Linked DNA regions of Homo sapiens: region 2 is linked to region 1. Evidence: promoter capture Hi-C in 16 types of primary human blood cells and fetal thymus (Javierre and others, 2016). All regions are on one chromosome and are shown on one strand. Each heading gives the region's core, a stretch centred on a gene start or on the middle of the fragment in contact. The rest is flanking DNA. Distances are from core to core; before and after follow the strand shown. Region 1 holds the start of ADK-AS1 (ADK antisense RNA 1). Region 2 overlaps DUSP29 (dual specificity phosphatase 29).

Region 1 (7,046 bases), core at 4,003-6,502:
CTTTGTGTATTCCTTTACTTGTTTGTGCACCATCCAAACTAATTTCCTGTATATACATGTATGTCTTTGCTTATGCTTTCCTCTAGAAAGCATGAATATGTTTTAATAAGACTTTCATTAATATTAAAGCTGTACATAAATAGCATTTTAAATGCAGCTTTCCTGACATGAAATTTTAAAGAAATTTAAAGAAAATTTTAAAGAAAAATTAAATATTTTTCTTTTGCATTACTGCATTCTTTTCTCATTATTTGAAAATTCTAATTCAGAATCTTCCTCAAAAATCAATTTAGATATTTCTTAAGGTAACAAGTTATGATTGATTGATTGATTGATATAGAGACAAGGTCTCCGTGTATTTCCCAGGCTGGAGTGCAGTGGTGTCATCTCGGCTCACTTCAACCTCCACCACCTGGGCTATAGCAATCCTCCCGTCTCAGTCTCATGAGTAGCTGGGACCACAGGCACACACCAACACACCCAGCTAATTTTTGAAATTTTTGTAGAGACAGAGTTCCGCCATGTTGCCCAAGCTGGTTTGGAACTCCTAGACTCAAGTGATTGGCCCACCTTGGCCTCCCAAAGTGCTGGAATTCCAGGTGTGATTCATTGTACCCAGCCAGAAGTTATGATCTTAATTAACAGATTATTTTAAAGTCACTTATAAGAATACAAACTCAGCCAGGCTCAGTGGTGTGCACCTGTAATCCCAGCTACTTGGAGGGCTGAGGTAGGAGGATTGCTTTATCCCAGGAGTTCAGGACCAGCCTGGGCAATATAGTGAAACCTTATCTCAAAAAATATATATTCCAAACTGTTTGTAAGAAGCTAAAAGGATTCAGTTTGCCTTCATAGTACAATTTCCCTAATTCGAATGTAATTATTGTCTTGAATGAGACCTTTCAAACATTTTTTCTTTCATGAATTTCCAGAATTCTTTAGTATTGAGCATATAAACCTAGTATGAAATAAGTAATGCTTTATTCTCTGAAGTAATGGCATGTATCAAGCATATGGTACTCATATGATCAAATATCCTTCCAGTCAAATGTTGCTATTTTCTGCCTTGCATCTTATAATTGTATTTTATATACTTTTGTATTTTGTATAGGTTTCTTTTATTCTCACTGAGAGTGACTGTGGAGATGGTATTTCTAATTTTCCCTCCTTTTTTCTTCATCCAGGGCTTTTTTCTTACAGTTTCCCCAGAGTCAGTATTAAAGGTGGCTCACCATGCTTCTGAAAACAACAGGATTTTCACTTTGAATCTATCTGCACCGTTTATTAGCCAGTTCTACAAGGAATCATTGATGAAAGTTATGCCTTATGTTGATATACTTTTTGGAAATGAGACAGTGAGTTACCTTTCCTTTTTCAAAAGAACCTGGGGGTTTTTTGTTTGTTTATTTCTGATGTGTGTATATATGTTTAGAAATATATAAATTAAATCCTAAATTTTTGTGTAAATGTCCTTGAGAATTGTGCAACAAAATTGCCTCAATGTCAACTGCTCTCAGTATTTTCAATATTTCCTTCAGTATATACTAACTTCTTTCTTAGTGAAGCATTTATTTATTTATTTTTATATTTTTATTTTTTTGAGGTGGAGTTTCCCTCTTTTCATCCAGGCTGGAGTATAATGGCATGATCTTGGCTCACTACAACCTCTCCTTCCCGGGTTCAAGCAGTTCTCCTGCCTCAGCCTCCTAAGTAGCTGGGGTTATAGGCGCATGCCACCATGCCCAGCTAAATTTTGTGTTTTTAGTAGAGACAGGGTTTCACCATGTTGGCCAGGCTGGTCACGAACTCCTGACCTCAGGTGATCTGATCGCCTCAGCCTCCCAAAGTGCTAGGATTACAGGTATGAGCCACTGTGCCCGGCCCAACATTTATTTTTTTAAGGTGTTTGACGTTTGATTTACTTATAGTAAGAGTCATCCTTTTTACTGTAATTTCTGTGAGTTTTTACAGATGGATACCTGTCCTGTTACTATGACCACAATCAGGATAAAAAAGCACATTCATCACTTTTTTAAGTCTCTTCAGAGTCTAAGTCCATTTGATATTTGTTTAATAAATTATGAGTAAATTTTGATATATTACATTTATATTTCTTTATTAATAATATTTTTAAAATATTGTCTGTTATAGTTGAAGGTGATAAAATGGAATTTCATCTCAACAAGTACAGTTTTTTCTTTCTACCAAGAATGTATTTTCTTCCATTCTAAATTATGGAAATGCTTATTTACTTAAATGCTTATTTACTTTGATTGCTTGTTTACTGTTTATACCTCTTATTTACTGTTTATACCTCTTTAAAAATCCATGAAAGAGGAAAAAATCCTTCAGTGTGTCTTCCTATGACTTGGCCATGTCACTTGATGGTTTAATGTATACAATGAAGGTATTGTATTAATCATCCCAGAAGTTCATTCTGATTCTAATTCCATAGTTCTAACATAGTTTGAATATATTCATCAATTTTATATCTAATAACTGCCATCTGCCTAGAATAACATAAAAATTGACCTGGAAGTTTACGAGATCACCTGGGTAAAGATTAAAGGATGATCCATAGAAATAATATCACAGTGTATCTGCAAAGGTGATGGTTACATTGGTTATAAATGGTGACATTGGAAGGAAATGCTATATTCTTGATAATTCACAAATTGAGATACTGGCAAGAAATAGTGGTAATAGCCAAGTGCCATATAACTGCTAGAAGCCTAATTTGACTAAGATCTACCATTTAGTTTTTCCTTATTAACAGTTTTATTTTGTAAAGGGTAAAAGAAGTAAATGGGAAAAGTGCTATTCAAGCCTTTTGAATAACATTAAAGCATTGGTCTCAGTAGTCTTGAGAATCATTGGGAGAAGTTAACATTTGGTCTCAGAGTTCTAAATAGTCAAGAAAGATCAGACTGGCAGCACTTAAATAAGTTCTCTAGAGTTTAAGAGACAAATCTTAAAACTTTTAAAAAAGATAAATATGATTCCAAAGAGGCCGGGCACGGTGGCTCACGCCTGTGATCCCAGCACTTTGGGAGGCAGAGGCGGGTGGATCACGAGGTCAGGAGATTGAGACCATCCTGGCTAACACGGTGAAAGCCCGTCTCTACTTAAAATACAAAAAATGAGCCAGGCGTGGTGGCGAGTGCCTGTAGTCCCAGCTACTCGGGAGGCTGAGACAGGAGAATGGCGTGAACCCAGGAGGCGGAGCTTGCAGTGAGCCGAGATCGCGCCACTGCACTCCAGCCTGGACAGAGCGAGACTCCGTCTCAAAAAACAAACAAACAAAAAAAAAAAAACATAAATATGATTCCAAAGAATGAAACTTTGGAAGTAAAGAAAGCTTAGGGAGATTGAATGCCATAAAAAATGCTATTTGGACTTTATAGTCACAAATGATCTTAATTAAGGAGAGAATGTGGAGGGACCTTTTGAAAAAATATAGCAGAGCACGCAGAAAACTCTTTAATAAGAGCTCAAATTTGGAGGATAACGAGATAGCTGCCTCTGCCTTTGCCGGTGCAGTGAGAGCAGCTTCAGGAATCTTATGGCCTCTGAATATTTTGGCATCTTCAGCCTACCAAAACTGTGTCAAAAATGCCTCTCTTATTTCTGCATTGTCCACTGGACGTTTTAGTCATATTCAGACACCAGTTGTTTCCTCCACTCCCAGACTTACCACATCTGAGAGAAACCTGACATGTGGGCATACTTCAGCGATCCTTAATAGAGTGGCCCTCTTGCTTCCAAGTGTCTTGAAGCTGCCAGCCAGATCTCTAACATACGTCAGTACAGGAAAAGGCAAGAGAAGGATTGTGAAAGCTGTCATCTATAGGTTTCTTCGACTTCATTGTGGCCTTTGGATGAGAAGGGCTGGTTATAAGAAAAAATTATGGAAAAAGGCACCTGCAAGAAAAAAGCGATTGAGGGAATTTGTATTCGGCAATAAAACCCAGAGTAAACTCTTAAGATAAAATGACGACGTCCTTCTGGAAGAGGTGAAACTGGTATGTCCATGATCCTTATCAGAAGTGTCATGATCGAACAAACCTGAAAGTATAGATCAGAAGTTTCACTTGTTTCTCAGTTATTGAATATGTATCTTTGTGTACATATCTGCAAAAATGGATAAGTAAAAATCTCGATGTAAATTGTATCAATGAATATGTAAACATACAGTGACAACACTGAACTTATAAAAGTTTTAAAACTTAAAAAAAAAGCTCAAATTTGTAAAAGACATGTAAAAAGAAGGTGGAAAATGTATTTAGAATCAGGGAATGATGCTAAAAGTTTGGTAGAGACAAAAGAGAAAAGAAAGTCCCAAAAGTGGTTTAAGTTTGCAGCAGATGCTGATGATATCAAAACAATCTTCACTTAAAAAAAAAAAAAAGACTCCAAAGTACAAGCAACAAATGGAAAAAATAGATAAATTAGACATCATCAAAATTAACAATTTTTGGGCATCGAAGGACACTAACAAGAATGTGAAAAGACAACTAGTGGAATGGGAGTTAATATTTGCAAATCATATATCTGATAAAGGATTCATATTCAGAATATTTAACACAGTAACAACTCAACAATAAGCAAACTAACAACATAATTCAATAATGATCAAAGGAATTTAATAAACATTTATTCGAAGAAGATATACAGATGGCCAGTAAACACATGAAAAGATGCTCAACATAACCATTCAAGAAGTGCAAATCAAAACCAAAATTAGATACCACTTCACACCCATCAGAATGACAATTGTTTTAAAAAATGGAAATTAACAAGTATTGGTGAAGATGTGGAGAAATTGGAAACACTTGTGTATTGCTGGTGGGAATGTAAAATGGGAATGTAGAAGACAATTTGGTGGTTCCTCAAAATGTTAAACATAGAATTATTACCATATGATCTAGCAGTTCTACTTCTAGGTATATTACCCAAAATAACTGAAAGCAGGGACTCAGATAATTGTACACCAATGTCCATAGCAGCATTATTCACAATAGCTAAGATAGAAGCAAATCAAATATTCATCAACAGATGAATAAACAAAATTTCATGTATATATACAATGGAGTATTATTTAGCCTTAAATAAAATTTTGATACATGCTACAACATGAATGAATTTTGGAAATACTATGTTAAGTAAAATAAGCCAGACACATCAGACAATTATTGGATTTTCTAAGAAGAATTCCACTTACAAGAAGTATCTAGAATAGGCAAATTCATAGAGACACATAGTAGGATAGTGATTACCTGGGAGTGGGGTGGGGAGGAATGAGGCATTATTGTGTAATAAGTACAGAGCTTCTGTTTGGGATGATGAAAAAGTTCTGGAAATGGATAGTGGTGATAGTTGCGCCACACTGTGAATGTATTTAGTGCCAATGAATTGCATACTTAAAATGGAAAATTTTATCATATGTATAGTTTACCACAATTTTTTTGAAAAAGTTTTATTCTACAAATCAGTAAACTTAAAAGTTGGATCACAGCTTAGCATAGATTATTAAAGGAATTATTTTTCCCCACCTAGAAGAGGAAGTGGTAAAACTGTAAGCTGCTACGTGGCTGTAAGTCATGGGGCAAGAAAATCTTTTCTCTTTTGGTATGATTATTGTTCATTTGAATTCGCTTCAAGAGGTATTTATATAGTACCTAAGTACCTATTATGGCAGACCAATAAGCAGTGGATACATAGTATATTTTAGAACATCTGTCATTACGTGGACTATAGAATAATAAAGATTGGCTATAAGACAATTAGAGGTATTTGGTATTTTATTGAAGCAGTCTCAAAAGGTCTGTTGATAAATAAATTGATTTCTAGGGGTACGCCTCAGTGTTTACCCTGCCTTTGCTTAAGTAAACAGTGATTTAGATAAAGCTATATTTGCATATAATTCAAATGCAAATAATACAACACCTTAATACATACTAGGTAAGTTGAAGGTCAAAATCAGATTTTTTTAAATGTTAGTAGACTCTAAATATCAGTTGAGTGATGAAATTTAATAGGGATAATAAAAATTATATCGTATTTGATTATAAAAAGCAAGTAGAGTAAAATGCTTTATCCCTTTAATCTCATCATCCATTGTTTTTCTCCTTGAATACTATAGTGATAATGTTATCTTCAGTTTTCCAGGAAAAAAGAGACATTTTACTTCTAAAATGTGACGAAGGATAAAATATAGTTATCAGAGAATATACGTAGGATTCTTTAATATTTCCCCCCTCAAAAAAATAAAGTATACTGTGTTTAGTATAAATTTTTAAAATGTCAAAACTCAGCTAAAATCAAACACACTTGGCCCTTATTTTCTACATGTCACCTTCCTCTTGTCAGAGGATTGTACAGTAGTAATGATGATTTAAAACTTCTGATAGCCTCAATATTTAAAAAAAATAATACCTTGTCCACAAAGATTATTTCTTCACAGGCAATGATCAATGATCCCTGTGAGACAAGAAATAAATAAGATAAACCTGATGATTACCCCAGCTAACTCCTTGGAGATAATTTCCAGGCAACAGAAGAAAGGTAACTAAGGCCAAGCACAGTGGCTCACGCCTGTAATACCAGCACTTTGGGAGGCTGAAGCGAGTGGATCCTTTGAGGTCAGGAGTTCAAGACCAGCCTGGCCAACATGGTGAAACCCCCTCTCTACTAAAAATACAAAAAAGCCTGGCAGGGTGGTTGTGCGCCTGTAATCCCAGCTACTCGGGTGGCTGAGGCATGAGAATTACTTGAACCTGGGAAGCAGAGGTTGCAGCGAGCCAAAATTGCACCACTGCACTCCAGCCAGTGTGATTGAGACTCTGTCTCAAAAAGAAAAAAGAAGGGTATCTCAAGTAGACCCTTGCAGTCTCTTTTAATGAGGAGTTGGAGCCGGAAGTTCAAGGAGTCTAAGACAGCTAGTGTTTGTAAGTTAAAAGTACCAGAGAAGAAATAGCTGAATAGAGGGAGAACACAGGACATTTGCAGAATCCCAACAAGTCTTCAGCTGAGTATGAATCAGTGCA
Region 2 (6,472 bases), core at 3,381-5,880, 520 kb after region 1:
TGACAGGAAGCTCCTACCCACCATGAAGACTGTTCTCTCTGGGTTCAGTAACTGGCTTTCAACATAATCAAGTGGCAGTTTGAATGAATAACAGTTTGCACTTTGCCACTTTTGGGGAGCGGGATAGATATGCAACAAGACTCATTGCCTGACACCTCCATATCCACCACACCAGGCTGACGTTGGTTGTGCCTGAGGCAGAGAAAGGGGCTCGTGAGGACCCTGAGACCCGGTGGGTATTTGAGGCCCACCACAAGTTTTCAGGGTCTTGGCTCCCTGGACGGGAAGGGGAGTTGGTATCCTCACACATCACTCTGGGGACTTCCCCCAGCTTCATTCACTCAGAGTTCAGTTGAGGGCTTGAAAGAGCATCCACAGCAGAATGGGAATCTGCAAATAAATGGAGTGCCTCTTACACAGATGTTGTGGGGGAGGCAGAGCCATCATCACAGACACCCATCGTCCAGTCCCCAGATGGGACAGATGCCCAGCTCAGCAATTATTGGGAGTGGGGCAGGCTCAGAGGGTGGTGTCTGACACTAGATTGCTTTGGTTTTGTTTTTAAATTTCAGGGCCACATACATTATCTGCTCACATATGTTAAAAAGAGACTAAGAAACACAGGGGCATTTTGAGGTGATGGGCATGGAGAAAAGGCCGTGTGCCCCACTCCTGGGTCCACATAAATGCCTCTGCTGAGGGAGAAAAGACTTCAGAAAGAAAAACAGATTTAAGAATGTACTTCCAGAATCTAGATGACACAGGAGCTTTAGTTTCTGGTTAGGCACAATCCTAGATGTGATCAGTCTGTTCAATTTTTAAATAATATGTCGTCTCATGACAAAAATAACACATGCTCAATGTAGAATGTAGAAAACATACTCCCCCCTCCAAAAAAATCACCTGTATTTCTACTCCCCTGGAGATAAAGGCTATTGTTAGCTTTTGATGTAAGAACCTCCCATTGTTTCTCTATGCATAGATTTGTATATTTTATAGAAAGGTTTTTTTTTGGTACAATACTATATATATAAAGTTTCAAAACCTTTGACGTGATATATTGTAAACATCTTCCTGTGGCAACATATAAGACTTCAATAACTGCATGCTATTTCATTATATAGGTATGTCCCAATTTTTTCTTACCAAACATTTTGATGTGTTTCTTTGGGCACTCCTCTGTTTATGTCCGTAGGAGACATTTTTAAAGGTGAAATTGCTGGGTCAACAGATATGGCCATTTTAAAATACATTTGATACTTGTTACTAAATTACCCTACAGAAAACTTGCTAAAATTGCTAAAAATTGCAGTCCGTATTCTTTGTCAATTTCATAGACAAAAAAAATTAATGGTGTCTTGTTTTCACTGATTCATTTTAGCAGTGATGGACATTGTTTACACATTTGTTGGACTCATGCAGTTTACTTTTTTTTTTTGTAACCTTTTTTTTACTCTTCCCAGTTCACTGGAATCATGTAGTTTACTTTTTTTTTCTTTTTTTTTTTTGAGACAGAGTCTCGCTCTGTCGCCCAGGCTGGAGTGCAGTGGCGCAATCTCGGCTCACTGCTCACTGCAACCTCCACCTCCCAGGTTCAAGCAATTCTCCTGCCTCAGCCTCCCGAGTAGCTGAGATTACACGTGTGTGCCACCATGCGTGGCTAATTTTTGTATTTTTAGTAGAGACAGGGTTTCACCATGTTGGCCAGGCTGGTCTCAAATTCCTGACTTCAGGTAATCCACCTGCCTCCACCTCCCAAACCCAGTGGAGTCTTAACCGTGCAGTCTTGAGTGTGCCCGTTCCTTGCAAGTGGACTTTAAAACAGTGGGCACATTTCTGGCATCTGATCTCGGTTAGTTCACCTGATGGGAAAGTGAAATGAACCGGCCTTCCGGTGTCTTGGGTGTTCTTGTTACTTGAGGGTGAAGCTCCTCCGTGTTGAGGCACCTGAGAAAACATAGGGCTGACAGCTGAAACTGACGCATGAACTGAGGTGGCAGAACTGCTGGGAGCCTCCGTTTTCTTTGTTTGCTAAATAGTACCGATTACACTGGCAGTACTTTCCTTGTGAGAGTCTTGTGAAGTTGAATGATGCAATACTGAAGCTTCTTTGAGAGGTTAAAAGATGACTCCAAGGGGAAAAGGCAGTGGAAAGATTTATGTCAGAATGTGCTTATCCCATGACAAAATGTGGTAATGGGATTATATGTAGTTTAAATTTTCTTGTTTTTGTCTTTCTACATTTTGTACATTTTCAGTAATGAACGAGTCATATATTCATTTACTATGTAAATATAGCATGATTTGTATTGTTATTTCCTTAGTTTTCAGGAGAGACCATTGTAAAGGCATAAGGTGGCCTCGGGGTTTTTAACTTCTACTGGAAATCTCCTGTCTGCCCCACTCTCCCAAACTCTATTCCTCCAAGGATGGAGGTGAAGAGAAGAGAGTACCCAGGAGGTCTGGTTTTGAGAAATGATGTCGTGTGAGTGATTGGACTCGGCATTTGCCTAACCATGCAAGGAGATGGTTTATGTTGCTTGAGGCCTTGACTGCTAAGCCGTGTTCTGGCAATGAGAAGGCCAGGCCAGGCCAGGGCCTCAGGCTTCTCTCCCCGACCGTCTTGCCTGTGACTGCTGCCCAGCTATGCCTCAGTTGCCTTCAGTAGTTGGAAGTCCTAGTTATTTCAGGTAACGCCCAGCATGTTAAATTCGCAACCTTGACTGTTTTTTGCTGCATCCTAAACTGGCCACACCACCCACACCTCGAAGAAGCAGGTTAATTTCATTCGTGCTCGGTGCCTTAAGGCGGAATTAGTTCCTCCTTTTCGGGGAGAAGGAGCTGTCTCAGCTGACTGACTTGCCTTCACTTCACTTCCCAGGCTCTCAACGCCAGGCCAGCTGTGGCGATGCCTCTGGCTTCTGAGGCTGTGGGTCTGGTCAGAAGCAGAAAAGCAGAAAGGACAAGACAGAGGTTCCCTGGAAAGCCAGCTTGGGCTGGGTGGGTGGGGCAGGCTGCAGGCCTTGGCAGGAATCTGAGCCCAAATGCCGGACCTTGGAGGCAACTGTAGTTTACACAAAAATAAGGAGCTCCTGAGGGCCCGCACCATTCCATGAGCAGCAGAAGTTTAACCTCACCCTGGCACTGGCTCTCCGACACCCGCATTGTGGAGAGGGAAGAGAGATTTCTCAATTATCCCGTTTCAGCCAAGCCTTATCACTGGAGGCTGCCCTGCCTAGGAATTTGCAATCACTTTGATGGTAGCCAGGATATTTCCCCTCCTGCTGACTATAGGGAAAAAAAGGACTGAAAAAAGATTTTGCTAAGCAAATGAAAGATGTGAACGAGATTAAAGTGAGAATATTTAAATTACAGAAACTTAGTGCTTTCGAGCGTACTCAAGCATTTTTGAAGCACCCATTTAGGGACTGCTGATTGATAAGAGGTGATGAATTATTCTTATCTCATCATTGACGCCAGTCCCTGGCTCTCTGGAGGACAACACTTGGTTAACCTAATTTGAATCTAATTTGAATGACTTAAAAGTAATAAAACAAGTGTGTGCTTGAAACTAATAAAGCCTAATTCATTTAATAGGCCATTTCTTAAATAATTTTATTTTAGAGCTGGAAGGGAACCTTCGAAATCATCCTTTATTTTACAAATAAAGAAACTGAGTCCCAGAACAATAAAATGCTTTGCCAAAGGCCACCCATAGTTGGTGGCCACCCACACACAGTGGGGACTGGGACGCTGTGCCGAGTCATGCCTGAGCCCTCCGCTCCACGCTGAGCCTGCAGTTCCACTTGTGGCAGATTCAGACCCCTATCGAGTTAGAGGAATGAGTGGGGAGTGGGTGGCTACACCTTGTGTGAAGAAGACTTCCCCCGAACCCCAGGAATATCTGCAAGGTGGCCAGCCAGGCCCCACCCCTTCGACCCCTCTGCTGAGCCGGCAGAGTGAGCACCCTCCACGTTGCCCTCCTGTTTGTGGCCTTTTCTCATCAGGCTGCACTGGCAGGGCCACCTTTCCCCTTCCCTGGGCTGCTGAGCAGTGAGGACTTGGAATTACCAGGCAGCCCACTTGGTGAATCCCCTTGAGCTAACCTGGGATGGAGAAAATGCTTTAGCGATTTTGAAACCCGCAGGCCCAAGGAACTTTGATATGGCTGCCTTCTTAGGCCTTAGGTCACCTCCCTGGAAGGCCTAGGAGAGCAGGCCCTCCTTCCAACACTCTGCCCTGGGTCATGATAGAATTCTCATGGGAGAAATCTGACCCAGGGTTGTTTTCTCTCCCAAGGCTTCCCCTAGCATGGGGGACCCTGGGTGGCAAGGCACAGTGACTGTGCTTTACCTTCCTCATACACTGTGAATCGAATTTCCAGAACCTGCCTGATTTGTCATAGTTCAAACTTGATGAATGTACTGGGCACCGTGAGACATGTTTTGCTTGCATTAACGCATAGAATCCACATAGGCGAAGAAGCTGAAAGTCACAAAGCCTGAGTGACTTGCCCAAGGCCACACAGAAACCAGTGTTCAGTCCAGACACTGTGGACCCAGAGCAGATGCTTGGCCGCTCCACCTATCTCCACAAAAAGGAGCAAGGAAAAGAGTGAGCTTCATCTTAGAGGTAAGTATGCCCCGCTGCAGGCCCCACAGTCACTGGCCTGGGCTCCAAGGATAGATAGTAGCTTTGGCCATCCCAGGACATCCATCCTTACTCCTGGGTCCTGACCTCCTTCACTTCCAGAGCCTTGGTACTGGGCTTTCAAAAATCTTAGGTGCTTTTAGGGAAAGGAAAAACCTAACCGAAATGTAAATATCAAATTAAAACTGAGGCTTTGTGCATGAGGAACCAGCTTGGAGCTTTTGGCTGCTTTGGGCAACCCCTGCAAAGAGACCAAGAAACACAGGCAGCCTTGCCTGTTCACAGCCCAGCTTATAACCTTTGCATGGCTGCATTGGCGGTAGAGTTAATTGCTCTTGCAATAAGCGTCTGTGAGTCTCATTAACCTTGTTAAGTGAGTGTCACAGAAATCAGGGACAAGCACACACCATGCTGACTTGAGGCTCCCTCCCTCAGCTGGGGGTGTAAAGTCTCACACACCTGTGTGTGCTTGTATTGGGGCTCGATTAGGCACAGTTGGATTGAATTAAAAGGGCAGTGACATTTTCCATTTTCTTGGTTGAAAGAAGCAAGTTCAAGGTCAAACATCAAGGAGGCAAGCATATTTTATTGTCTAGCACTCGATTAACTAGAACACGTCAGTTCTGCTCAGACACTCAATGGTTTTCTGAATAAAGTCCCTTGGCCGTCATTCACCCTTCCATGAGCTGGCCCTGACCTACCTTTCCAGATTTCTTTTTTGTTAACTATAATATTTGCATTTGTCTACTTTTTTTTTTTTTTTTTTTTTTCTTGAGACGGAGTTTCGCTTTGTCACCAGGCTGGAGTGCAGTGGCGCGATCTCGGCTCACTGCAACCTCCGCCTCCCGGGTTCACGCCATTCTCCTACCTCGGCCTCCCGAGTAGCTGGGATTACAGGAGCCCGCCACCATGCCAGGCTAATTTTTTTGTATTTTTAGTGGAGACAGCATTTCACCGTGTTAGCCAGGATGGTCTCAATCTCCTGACCTCGTAATCCGCCTGCCTCGGCCTCCCAAAGTGCTGGGATTACAGGCGTGAGCCAACGCGCCCGGCCATCCCCGGCTAATTTTTGTATTTTTAGTAGAGGCGGGGTTTTGCCATGTTGGCCAGGCTGGTCTCGAACTTGTGACTTCAAGCGAGCCACCTGCCTCGGCCTCCCAAAGTGTTGAGATTACAGGCGTGAGCCACCACGCCTGGCCAACTATTCTTCAAGTTGAGGAAAAGGTAAAATAACCTGCCCAAAGCCAATGCACCTGACCAGGAGGCTGTGCCAGATGGCATTATTGTTAGAACGTTTGCAGCCCCTCTGGCTGCGCTAGTTATACTTTCCTGCCCCACTGACATGAGGCTTTGGCGTGGACTTGCTTTTGCCAGTGAAATGTGGGCAAAAATGGCATGTGTCACTTCTAAATCAGCTTATGGTTTGCTAGGTCTCTCTTTTCTCTCTGCTGCAAGGCTGGCAAGATCTCAAATCAGGGCTGCTCTATCACCCTGGGTCCTAGAGTAAAGTGGCCGGGAGCGCAGCAGAGCTGGCCCACCATGGACTGCATTGTGAGTGAGAAAGAATCATTGCTGTGGCCGGCCACCAAGATGTTGGGGTGAGCTATTAGACTAGCACAGCTAATCGAAACTGACCACACAGCAGTAGAATTTGGCTTAATCTTGGACCTTCTGAAAGTGTACCACATTCATCCCCTATATTCCAGATGAATCTCCCTGCTTTTCTCACCTCTGTAGCTATTCCCATCCTGCTTCCTCTGCCTGGAATTTCTTTGAAATCCTACCCATCTTCAAAAGTCGAGCCTAGATCCATGTCTTCTGT

Evidence for each region. Contacts are between HindIII fragments. The CHiCAGO score rates a contact against its expected background, and 5 or more counts as called.
Region 2: a fragment that was not itself captured here is called in contact with the fragment with the promoter of ADK-AS1 in region 1 in 1 of 17 cell types (total B cells); the score reaches 6.2 in total B cells.

The regions. Positions count from the first base shown.
Region 1 is chr10:74,524,072-74,531,117 of GRCh38, forward strand. It overlaps ADK-AS1 (ADK antisense RNA 1), which reads right to left and starts at 5,253. Exons shown (of 5, transcript NR_120673.1): 1 at 5,222-5,253; 2 at 3,695-3,921. ADK (adenosine kinase) reads left to right here. Exons shown (of 11, transcript NM_006721.4): 7 at 1,185-1,355. It also overlaps the pseudogene MRPL35P3. The HindIII fragment of the contact is 4,742 bases long and covers 3,357-7,046 here.
Region 2 is chr10:75,046,903-75,053,374 of GRCh38, forward strand. The region is part of intron 2 of DUSP29 (dual specificity phosphatase 29); the gene reads right to left. Among named protein-coding and RNA genes, the nearest start is that of DUSP29, 24 kb to the right of the region's middle. The HindIII fragment of the contact is 5,055 bases long and covers 2,104-6,472 here.